Linked DNA regions of Homo sapiens: region 1 is linked to region 2. Evidence: promoter capture Hi-C in human tissues and cell types (Jung and others, 2019). All regions are on one chromosome and are shown on one strand. The core of a region is centred on a gene start or on the middle of the fragment in contact, and the rest is flanking DNA. Distances in the headings are between cores, read along the strand shown.

Region 1 (5,332 bases), core at 1,254-3,753, 640 kb after region 2:
ATGGGAAACTCCATTTCTACAAAAATATAAAAATTAGCAAGGCATGATGGTGGGTGCCTGTAATCCCAGCTGCTTGGGAGGCTGGGGCGGGAGAATCGCTTGAACCTGGGAAGCGGAGGTTACACAATGAGCCAAGATCGTGCCACTGCACTCCAGCCTGGGCAACAGAGCAAGACTGTCTTAAAAAAAAAAAAATGCTGGAGTAGTTAGGATATGAGTTTGAATTTTTATTTCCATGATTCAATCAGCACCTATTCTCCCAAATGCCTTCTCTGCGTTGGGCCTGTGCTAGGTGGCACTGGGGACACAGTGGAGACTGACATGGCCCCTGGCCGCCTCCTCCCTTCTTGGGGCTCATAGTCTAATATGGGACTGACCTGTCTCCCCACACTGATGACCCAGAGTTGGCAGGGCTGGATGTGGGAGCCCAAGAGCCTGGAAACCTGGGAAATAAGAAAGGGCTTCCTGGAGGAGGAAGCATCAGCACTGGGGCTCAGACAACAGGGAAGTAGAGGGCACGTTGGCTGCAATTCGGAGGGAGCGCGGAGCTGTGCCGAGTCTGGAGTTTGGTCCACGGACCAGCAGCGCCCTCTGCTGGAAGCATTTCATAGTGTAGTGACCGGGGTACCGCGCGCATTGAGCCATGTATGTATGTATGCATTTATTTATTTTTGAGATGGAGTTTCGCTCTTGTTGCCCAGGCAGGAGTGTAATGGTGTGATCTCGGCTCACTGCAACCTCTGCCTCTGGGGTTCAAGCGATTCGCCTGCCTCAGCCTCCCAAGTAGCTGGGATTACAGGCGTGCGCTACCACACCCGGCTAATTTTGTATTTTTAGTAGAGATAGGGTTTCACCATGTTGGCCAGGCTGGTCTCGAACTCCTGACCTCAAGTGATCCAGCCCCCTCGGCCTCCCAAAGTGCTGGGATTACAGGTGTGAGCCACTGCGCCGTCCTCAAGTTATATTAGAATCGTGTCCTCCCAGCTTTGGCCAGCTTACTATTCTAGGACTTGATTCCTTCATTCAGTCACAATTTATTGAGCACCGACTTTGCATCAAGCTCTTGCTGAAGATAACAGTGCTGACAATATACAGCCCTGCCCTCAGAGCTTATATAGTAGAGGAGAAAAAGTGAACCCATAATATACAGTCAGTAGCGAGTATTTACTAAGTACTTTCTATTTGCGAGGCCCTGATAAAAGTACTGTCCTGGCCAGGCGCGGTGGCTCACGCCTGTAATTCCAGCACTTTGGGAGGTCGAGGTGGGCAGATCACCTAAGGTCAGGAGTTCGAGATCAGCCTGGCTAACATGGGGAAACCCCGTCTCTACTAAAAATGGAAAAATTAGCTGGGCATGGTGGCGGGCGCCTGTAATCCCAGCTACTCGGGAGGCTGAGACAGGAGAATGACTTGAACCCAGGAGTTGCAGTGAGCCAAGATAAGATAGCGCCATTGTACTCCAGCCTGGGTAACACAGCGAGACTGTGTCTCAAAAAAAAAAAAAAAAAAAAAAAAGTACTGTCCCTGTATTAGTTAACATTCAATTCTCAAAGCCTTAGACTATTTATATTTTATTGACTAGGGAAACTGAGGCACAGAGAGGTTAAGTTACTTGCCCAAGGCCTGCACAGCAAGTAAGTGCCGGAATCAAATTTGAACCCTGAGCCCAATTCTTAGATATCACATTCCCTTGCCAATAACATAATATATAACATAACATAATGATGTGATATATGTTATATAAAATAACTTTAGGGGCCGGGGGCGGTGGCTCACTCCTGTAATCCCAGAACTTTGGGAGGCCGAGGCGGGAGGATCACTTGAGGTCAGGAGTTTGAGACCAGCCTGGCCGACATGGCGAAACCCCGTCTCTACTAGAAATATAAAAAGTAGCCGGGCGTGGTGGCAGACACTTGTAGTCGCAGCTACTCGGGAGACTGAGATGGGAGAATCGCTTGAACTTGGGAGGTGGAGGTTGCAGTGAGCCGAGATCGCGCTACTGCACTCCAGCCTGGGTGACGGAGCGAGACTCCCTCTCAATAAATAAATAAGGTAATTTTAGGCCCTGAAAAGTTTTGTGAACAAAATCAAGAGGAGTATGTAATGTTTTGGTGGAAGGGTGCCATTTAGAAGGGGGCAATCAGGGAAGGCCTGCCGGAGGAGGTGGCCTTTGAGAAGAGACCTAAAGACGATGAGATCTGTGGGAAGAGAGATCGAAGCAGGCCACACAACCAAGGAAAAGGCTCTGGGGCAGGCACTGCAAGAAAGCCACCTGTCTGGGATCTAAAGTTTCCAAAGTTTTAGCTTGGCCAAGGCCCCTGCGCTACAATCACCCTGATTCGAGGTGTCCTGGAGGTTACCAGTTCCGCGTGCGAAGTTCTGCCATTCCCGCGGGGCTGGAGCCCCGAGGCTGAACTTCCCACGGGCGGTGGGCGTGGCCGGCTCACCTGCGGGGGCGTGGCTCCCGGCTGCCCCGCCCCTCGGAGGAGCCGCCCGAGGTCCCAGACGCCCGGCGCAGCGGGAGCGGCGGGGCGTGCCTGGCCTGCGGGACGCGACTGATCGCAGTGGGGCGAAGCGGGGCCGGAGCCGCCCGCGGTCAGGTGGGTGCCGGGAGTGGGGCGCGGGACTCTCGGAGAGCCGCGATGATGGGGGGCGGGGGCAACCCTGGGCCCGCTCGCCCTGAGACGGGGAAGGGCCTTGGGGCTCCCGGATGCCCCCTGCCCCGTCCTGGGGCTCTCCGGGATCTGGAGGCCTGGCTGGGGTCCCATGCCCCCCACCCCAGCGCAGGTAAACAGCGAGGACGGGGCGGGGCCTGGGAGGGAGAGGGAGGGGGCCCTTGTGACTGCGGGTGAGCCTGGTGCGCGGGGCTGGGCAGGCCAGGGTAAGTTGGTGCGGCTTGCGGGGCTGGGCCACGATGGGAGTCTCCTGCCTGCCTGTGTTTGTGTGTGTGTGTGTGTGTGTGTGTGTGGCTTTGCGTGTGTGTAAGAGAGTGTGTCAGGCTGTGGGTATGAGGGTGAAAGCGACTGTCCGTGTAACCCTGTGATGGGACTGTGTGTATGATGTGACACTTTTAGCAATGTGAAAACGTGGGCGACCTCTGACTGGAATGGTGTGTGTGTAGAATTGGATTGCTGGTAGCACTTTACGACCAAGAGCTAGTGCGACTGTAGTCGACTTTCTGCTTGGCCTGATGTGCATGTGTGTGGCTGTGTGTGTGGCTGTCTTCATGGCAGAGAGTGGAACTGGTTGTAGGATTAGGTGTGATTGACCAAGAGGCTGTGCGGCTGTGGTTGTCTTTCTGCCTGTTGGTGTGTGTGTGTGTGTGTGTGTGTGCGCGCGCGCGTGTGGTGGACAGTGTGGCACTGGATCAGTGATAGGTGACTATGATTGACTTTTGATTGTGTGTCACTGTGATGGTGCATGGGGCTGGGCGGAACTGTGTCCAGAAGTGGAGCTGTTTCATGGGACGGTGCGCGTGGAACCTTGGGGTTGGATGAGTGAGGTGTGGAGGTGTGTGAAGCCGTGTGTGCGTGTGTGTGTGTGTGTGTGTGTGTGTAGAGAGGAACTAGAGGGTGTGTGATCTGCATTGATACCGTGGCTGGCAGTGGTGTGCAACGGAGAGTTTGTGGGAGATGGGAGTGGAGACGTGGACATTTAAGTGGGATGCTCCTCCAAGCGGGTGACAGGATGGAAAAGGGGGTCCGCGTCAGGGATCAGTGTGTGGGACTGTGCCTATGATTATCAGCTGTGCGGTTGTGCACCCGGGGCTCTGTGTGAGTGTGGGAGCTGCTGTGTGTCTGGGACACAGCCCGAGTGCTGGATGGCTGTGGTTGAGCCGTGTTTGTTGCTGTGGTTGTCAATCTGGCTGTGGAGTGGTGTGTGTAAGGCTGTGTCTGAGGTTATAGAGGGAGGTTTTACATCGGCAAAATTGTGTGAAGAATGGTTGTGGTTGTCAGGATGACTCTTGAACCTGTGTGGTTGTGAGTTCAACCATTTATGATGTTTGTGTGTGAGGTGTGAGAATAGGTATGGTGTGATATACACAAGCACACAGATTGGCCGGGTGCAGTGGCTCATACCTGTAATCTCAACACTTTGGGAGGCTGAGGCGGCGGGGATTGCTTGAACCCAGGAATCCTAGACTAGCCTGGGCAATATGGTGATACCCCGTCTCTACAAAAACAAAAATTAGCTGGGCATAGTTTAGTTTTTTAAAAATTAAAAAAAGGTTGGCTGGGCGCGGTAGCTCACGCCTGTAATCCCAGCACTTTGGGAGGCCAAGGGGGGAGCGGGTGGATCATTTGAGGTCAGGAGTTTGAGACCAGCCCGGCCAACATGGTGAAACCCCGTCTGTACTAAAAATACAAAAATTAGCCAGGTGTGGTGGCGGGCACCTGTAATTCCAGCTACTTGGGAGGGTGAGGGAGGAGAATCGCTTGAACCTGGGGAGGTGGAGATCGCAGTGAGCCAACATCATGCCATTGCACTCCAGTCTGGGCAACAGAGCGAGACTCAGTCTCAAAAAAATAAAATTAAATTTTTTAAAGGTTGATATATACATCACATATATACACATACATATATCTAGAGAGAGGGAGAGATCAATGACGATCAAGTCTGTGGTGCACAAAACGTACAGGACCCTTACTGTATGTGATCGTGCATGTACAACATGTGCAAAAACCGCTGGGCTGCTTATGGTGGATGCAGTGGCTTGAGTGAAGTGTGCGAGAACGTGGCATCCCTCCACGCGTATTCACAGCTCTCTGTTCCGACAGTGGAGCTGAATCTGAGTACTTGTGTGTGCATGGCGTGTAGGTGTGGGAGTCCCTGCTGGCCAGGCCTGGAGTGGGAGGGAGAGGAAGTAGGGAAACTGGCGAGGGATCCATAGTGAATCTTGGGAGTGTGTGCATCTGGAGGTGCGTTGGGCACATTGTGGGGAGTTGGCTGCTTGGGAGCCATGTGAGTTCGGGGGACAGCGAGTGTCACGGTCAAGTGCAAGGAGATGGTCTGAATGTGAGTGATTTGGGGAGTGGGAGAGACAGAGTTAGTTTCTGCGTGGGTTGGCTTTTCTTTCTTTTTTTTAAATAATATTATCACTTTTTGACACGGAGTTTTGCTCTTGTCACCCAGGCTGGAGTGTGGTGGCGTGATCTTGGCTCACTGCAACCTCCGCCTCTCAGGTTCAAGCAATTCTCATGCCTCAGCCTCATGAGTAGCTGGGGACTACAGGCGCATACCACCATGCCTGGCTAATTTTGTATTTTTAGTAGAGCCGGGGTTTCACCATGTTGGCCAGGCCAGTCTCAAACTCCTGACCTCAACTGATCCA
Region 2 (5,177 bases), core at 2,548-5,047:
TGATCCACCCGCCTCGGCCTCCCAAAGTGCTGGGATTATAGGCGTGAGCCACCACGCCTGGCCACCTGGGTGTTCTTTCTAGGGTCAGGAATTAAGGGGACATTTGGTCCTTTCTCCCCAAGAACAACCTCTCCAGGCCCAGCCAGAGCCAACTCCAGGCCTTGACAGGCCGGCACAGGAAGCCACACCCTGAGCAAATATGACGGCCCCCTCTGCCTCGCCCAAGATAAGGGGAGGTTGAAAGGGGTTTGGAAACCTGCTTCAGCCTAAGACATTAGCTCCAGCCAAACCCTCAGTCTCAAGGCCTCCCCACCCCTGCCCAGAGAGGACAGGACAAGGATTCTGCCACGGAGGCCCAAGTCTGACGTTTACATCTAATATATATTGATGATGTCAGTGGTGGGCAGGGTCTTGAAGAGCAGATAAAGGAGTTCCCAGCCTCCCTCCCGCTCCCAAGGAAACTAAGTGACTGGTGAGACAAGAGGGCTGGGCGGGCAAGGGGTGACCCTGACCAAACAAGGTCATAGACCCGTGTCCCCAGATGGCTGTGCAGAGAAGATAAGACTCATCTGCTCCAATCTTATGAGGCAATGGCCCGGGGCCTCAGTTTACTTGTCTGCAAAATGGGTTTTCTTGGGGGTGGGCAGCGGGGAGATGGATAACAGGAAAAGCTGAAGCTGTCAAAAAGAATAATGGGCCAGGCACGGTGGCTCACACCTGTAATCCCAGCACTTTGAGAGGCCAAGGCAGGTGGATCACTTGAGGTTAGGAGTTTGAGACCAGCCTGGCCAACATGTCAAAACCCTGTCTGTACTAAAAATATTAAAATTAGCCAGGCATGGTGGCGCATGCTTGTAATCCCAGCTACTCGGGAGGCTGAGGTGAGAGAATCGCTTGAACTTGGGAGGTGGAGGTTGCAGTGAGCCAAGATCGCACCACTGCACTCCAGCCTGGATGACAGATCAAGACTCCATTTAAAAAAGAAGAAGAAGAAGAAGAAGAAGAAGAATGATATCAGCAGAATACATCTACAAGCTGACCACTTCTCCCATCCCTGGTTCAGCCGCCACTACCTCCTGCCTGGTCCAGCACTACCCAACAGGAGCAAGAGTGGAGCCGCAAACACAATTCAACCTTTTCCAGCCTCATCTCATGAAGAAAGGTGAAACGAATGTATTTAACACAACATATGCAAAATGTCATTTCAGCACAGAATCAATATAAAAAACTGATTATCTGTTTTACATTATTGTGTATGCATGCGCTCTTTTTTTTTTTTTTTTTTCTTAATGAGACAACAAGGTCTTGCTCTGTCGCCCAGGCTGGAGTGCAGTGGTGAGATCACAGCTCACTGCAGACTCAACCTCCTGGGCTCAGGCGATCCTCCTACCTCAGCCTGCCAAATAGCTGGGACTACAGGCGTGCAACACCACTCCTGGCTCATTTTTAAATTTTTTTGTAGAGACGTGCTCTACGCTGCCCAGGCTGGTCTCGAACTCCTGGGCTCAAGCCATCCTCCCGCCTCAGCCTCCCAAAATGCTGGGATTACAGGTGTGAGCCACCGCGCCCGGCCCCCCTTATTGAACCTCTACTCCAATGTCGCTCTGACAATGTCGCCTTGCTGCCCTGCATAAACCAGTGCCCCGACCACCTCCATCCCTTCCCCTGCTTTATTTTTCTCCACAGCATTGTCCCCACCTGTTCTAACACTGCTCATGTTTGTATTCGTCTATTAACTGTCTCCCCAATCAATAGGTCAGCTCTGTGTCTACCGTATTCACGGCTGTAACCCCACAGCGCCTAGCGCAGTGCCCGGCACATAGTTGGTGCTCCATAAACATTTGTCAAATGGTGGAGGAACAACGACCACTGTGCCCCCAGTACGTGCTCTGAGGCAGGCCCGGCACGGAACACTCCATGTGCCTATTTTGATCCTCAGAAGAGTCCCAGGGAAGTCAATGTCATGAACACCCCCCACCCACTGCACAAACAGGAAAAAGCCCCTGCCCACAAGAACCCCGTCTGCTTTCTGCGCAGCCCGGCGGCGCACAGCAGGTGCTAAAGAGCCTGCAGCTCTTGACTGAACCAAGGATCTGGGCTCACAGCCGGGAGCACCAGAGGAGGGGCCAGGGAGGTGGAGGATGGGGGCAGACTAGGAAGGGTGGATGTGACGATAGAGGGCCTCTAGAGCCCGGCCTGGTCACACTCCGCAGGCAGACAGCAGATCACCAGGAACCTGAGCCTCTCTGAAGACTCCTCTCTCTGTGTCATCCACACCTGGTGTCCAGTTCCACAAACATGCTGTGAGCCTCTGCTCTGTGCCAGGTGATTTGCTGGGCAGTGCTGGGGACACAGTGGTGACAGCCCAGCCGTGCCCAGCTGAGGCTCCCAGGCCAGTGGGGGAAAAAGACCCAGCCCCAGACAGCGAGAACCCAAGGCAGTCAGGGCTGAGACAGGGAATTCCAGGCCCTGAAGTCCAGGAGGGCTTCCTGGAGGAGAGGGTTTGGGGAAGGCAGTGGAATAGAGCAGAGGGAAGCAGGGATATTCTGGGTAGAGTGCAAGTGAAACAGAAGAACTGAAGCAGAGGGTTCCCGGAAGCAAGTGGTATTCTATGTAGCTGGTCAGGTGGGCAGGAGTCAGGCCGGGCAGGGCCTCCTGGGCTACAGTGAGGAACCTGGGCTTCCTCCCAAGGGCACTGGGGAGCCACAGCAGGTTCTGAGCACGGAGGGGCAGAGGCAGGTTTTTGTTTTGGAAAGAGCCTCTGTCTGCCATGTGGAGGGGCAATGGGAGTCGGGGAGACCAGGGCCAGAGACTAGGGAGGAGGCTGGTGGGGAGACAGGAGGACCCAGGCAAGGTGGGGTGGTGGAGTGGTCACCTAGACCAGGGCAGGGGCTTCAGGGAGGGAGAGAAGATATACGTAGAGTCAGTTGCCAGAAGGGGTGGCGTGTTCGGGGAGTAGGGGGAGGCATCAGGGATGAGGCCCCAGGTCTCTTTTCCCAGCGATGAGGTGGGTAGTGGCGCCTTCCCTGATAAGGGCACCAGGGGAAGATACACTTCTGGGGGAAGATGCCAAGGTCAGTTTGGGACAAGGTGAGTGAGAGGTGCCCAGGGACATCAGGGAGGCATCCTGATTGATACTGGGATGAGGTCCCAGTGCTCTGGGCCAGGACGCAGAAGAGTGAGGTGAGGTCACAGGTGGGGAGAGGGGAGCAGGAGGCGCCAGGACATCCTCTGTGCCTCTCACCTGGCCTCACCCGCACCTCCTCAGGGCCTTCTCCCCCTTGTTAGAGCCCTGCCCCACGAGGGCAGCCCAGGACACAGTGCTGGAGGCAAACCAGGACAGGTGAGCACAGGTGTGGCCCCCTGCCCGGAAGCAGGCTGCAGAGGCCTCAGAGGAACCAGGACTCAGAAGCCATCAGGATGCAGGTCATAAGAACACAGCTATCAGCAGCTCTGGCACCACAACCCCCTCGGCTCCTGCCCAGCATCATCTCAGAGACACCTTCCCTGTTACCCTCCCTCCACCCCAATTTAAAGTAGCAAACCAGGCCAGGGGCAGTGGCTCATGGCTGTAATCCCAGCACTTTGGGAGGCCAAGGTGGGAAGATCACTTGAGGCCAAGAGTTTGAGACCAGGCAGAGCAACATAGCGAGATCCCATCTCTACAAAAAATAAAATGGCAAATCCCCTTTCTGACTTTATTTTTCAATCTGACGTGGAAGATATTTACCTTTCCTTTATTTACTCCGCAAATGTCGGCCCCCTGAGGGCAGGGATTTCATCCGTCTTGTGCACGGCTGCATCCTCAGCGCCTAGAACAGCACCTGGCAAACAATAGGTGCTCATTCAGTATTTGTCCAATAAGTGAATGAGTGATTTACTGAGCATTTACTCTGCGCCAGTCGTGGTAAGTACTGTACTTCACATGTGTATCTACTTAATCCTTTCAACAGCCCTGTGATGTGAGTACTATTGTTTTCCCTATTTTACAAATAAGGAAACTGAGGCTTGGCAGAGTCCATAAATTGCCCAGGGTCCTGGAGGTAGGAAACAGTGGAACTATGTCCAGAGCCTATACTTTTTTTTTTTTGAGATGGAGTTTCACTCTTTTGCCCAGGGTTCAAGCAATTCTCCTGCTTCAGCCTCCCAAGTAGCTGGGATTACAGGTGCCCGCGACCACACCCAGCTAATTTTTGTATTTTTAGTAGAGACAGGGTTTCACCATGCTGGCCAGGCTGGTCTTGAACTCCTGACCTCAGTTGATCCACCCACCTCGGCCTCCCAAAGTGCTAGGACTACAGGCATGAGCCACTGCGTCCGGCCATGAGCCACCACGCCCGGCCAGAGCCTATACTTTTAATAACAGGCATACCAATCAGACCCACGTCCACCAGGCTCTGGCTTAAATCCCTGACTTGTAGCCTCTCACTAACTGCTGTCAACAAACCTGAAGTAGGGTCCATATCATCTCTATTTTTTTGTTTGTTTTTGAAATGGAGTCTTGCTCTGTCACCCAGGCTGGAGTGCAGTGGCAGGATCTCGGCTCACTGCAACCTCTACCTCCTGGATTCAAGCGATTCTCCTACCTCAGCCTCCCTAGTAGCTGGGATTACAGGCATGTGCCACCATGACCGGCTAACTTTTATTTTTTGTTTTTGCTTTTGTTTTTTGAGATAGAGTCTCACTCTGTCACCCAGGCTGGAGTGCAGTGGTGTGATCTCAGCTCGCTGCAACCTCCACCTCCTGGGTTCAAGAGATTCTCCTGCCTCAGCCTCTCGAGTAGCTGGGACTACAGGTGCACACCACCACACCCAGCTAATTTTTTATATTTTTAGTACATACGAGGTTTCACCATATTGGCCAGGCTGGTCTCGAACTCCTGACCTCGTGAGCCACCTGCCTTGGCCTCCCAAAGTGTTGGGATTACAGGCGTTAGCCACCACACCCAGCTAACTTATATTTTTAATAGAGACGGGGTTTCGCCATGTTGGTCAGGCTGGTTGCAAACTCCTCACCTCAGGTGATCTGCCCATCTCAGCCTCCCAAAGTGCTGGGACTACAGGCACCTGCCACCACGCCTGGCTATTTTTATTATTATTATTTTTAGTAGAGATGGGGTTTCGCCATGTTGGCCAGGCTGATCTCGAACTCCTGACCTCAAATGATCCGCCTGCCTT

The links. Contacts are between HindIII fragments. The study calls those that stand out against the background at their distance.
Region 1: a contact is called between the fragment with the promoter of KLC3 here and the fragment with the promoter of CEACAM16 in region 2, in 1 of the 25 tissues and cell types used here (lymphoblastoid cells).

The regions. Positions count from the first base shown.
Region 1 is chr19:45,338,247-45,343,578 of GRCh38, forward strand. It overlaps KLC3 (kinesin light chain 3), which reads left to right and starts at 2,504. Exons shown (of 13, transcript NM_177417.3): 1 at 2,504-2,600. RefSeq lists a silencer at 2,400-2,489. The HindIII fragment of the contact is 10,588 bases long and covers 1-5,332 here.
Region 2 is chr19:44,695,354-44,700,530 of GRCh38, forward strand. It overlaps CEACAM16 (CEA cell adhesion molecule 16, tectorial membrane component), which reads left to right and starts at 3,798. Exons shown (of 7, transcript NM_001039213.4): 1 at 3,798-3,907. CEACAM16-AS1 (CEACAM16, CEACAM19 and PVR antisense RNA 1) reads right to left here. Exons shown (of 2, transcript NR_186815.1): 2 at 3,685-3,824. RefSeq lists an enhancer at 1,365-1,970. The HindIII fragment of the contact is 25,622 bases long and covers 1-5,177 here.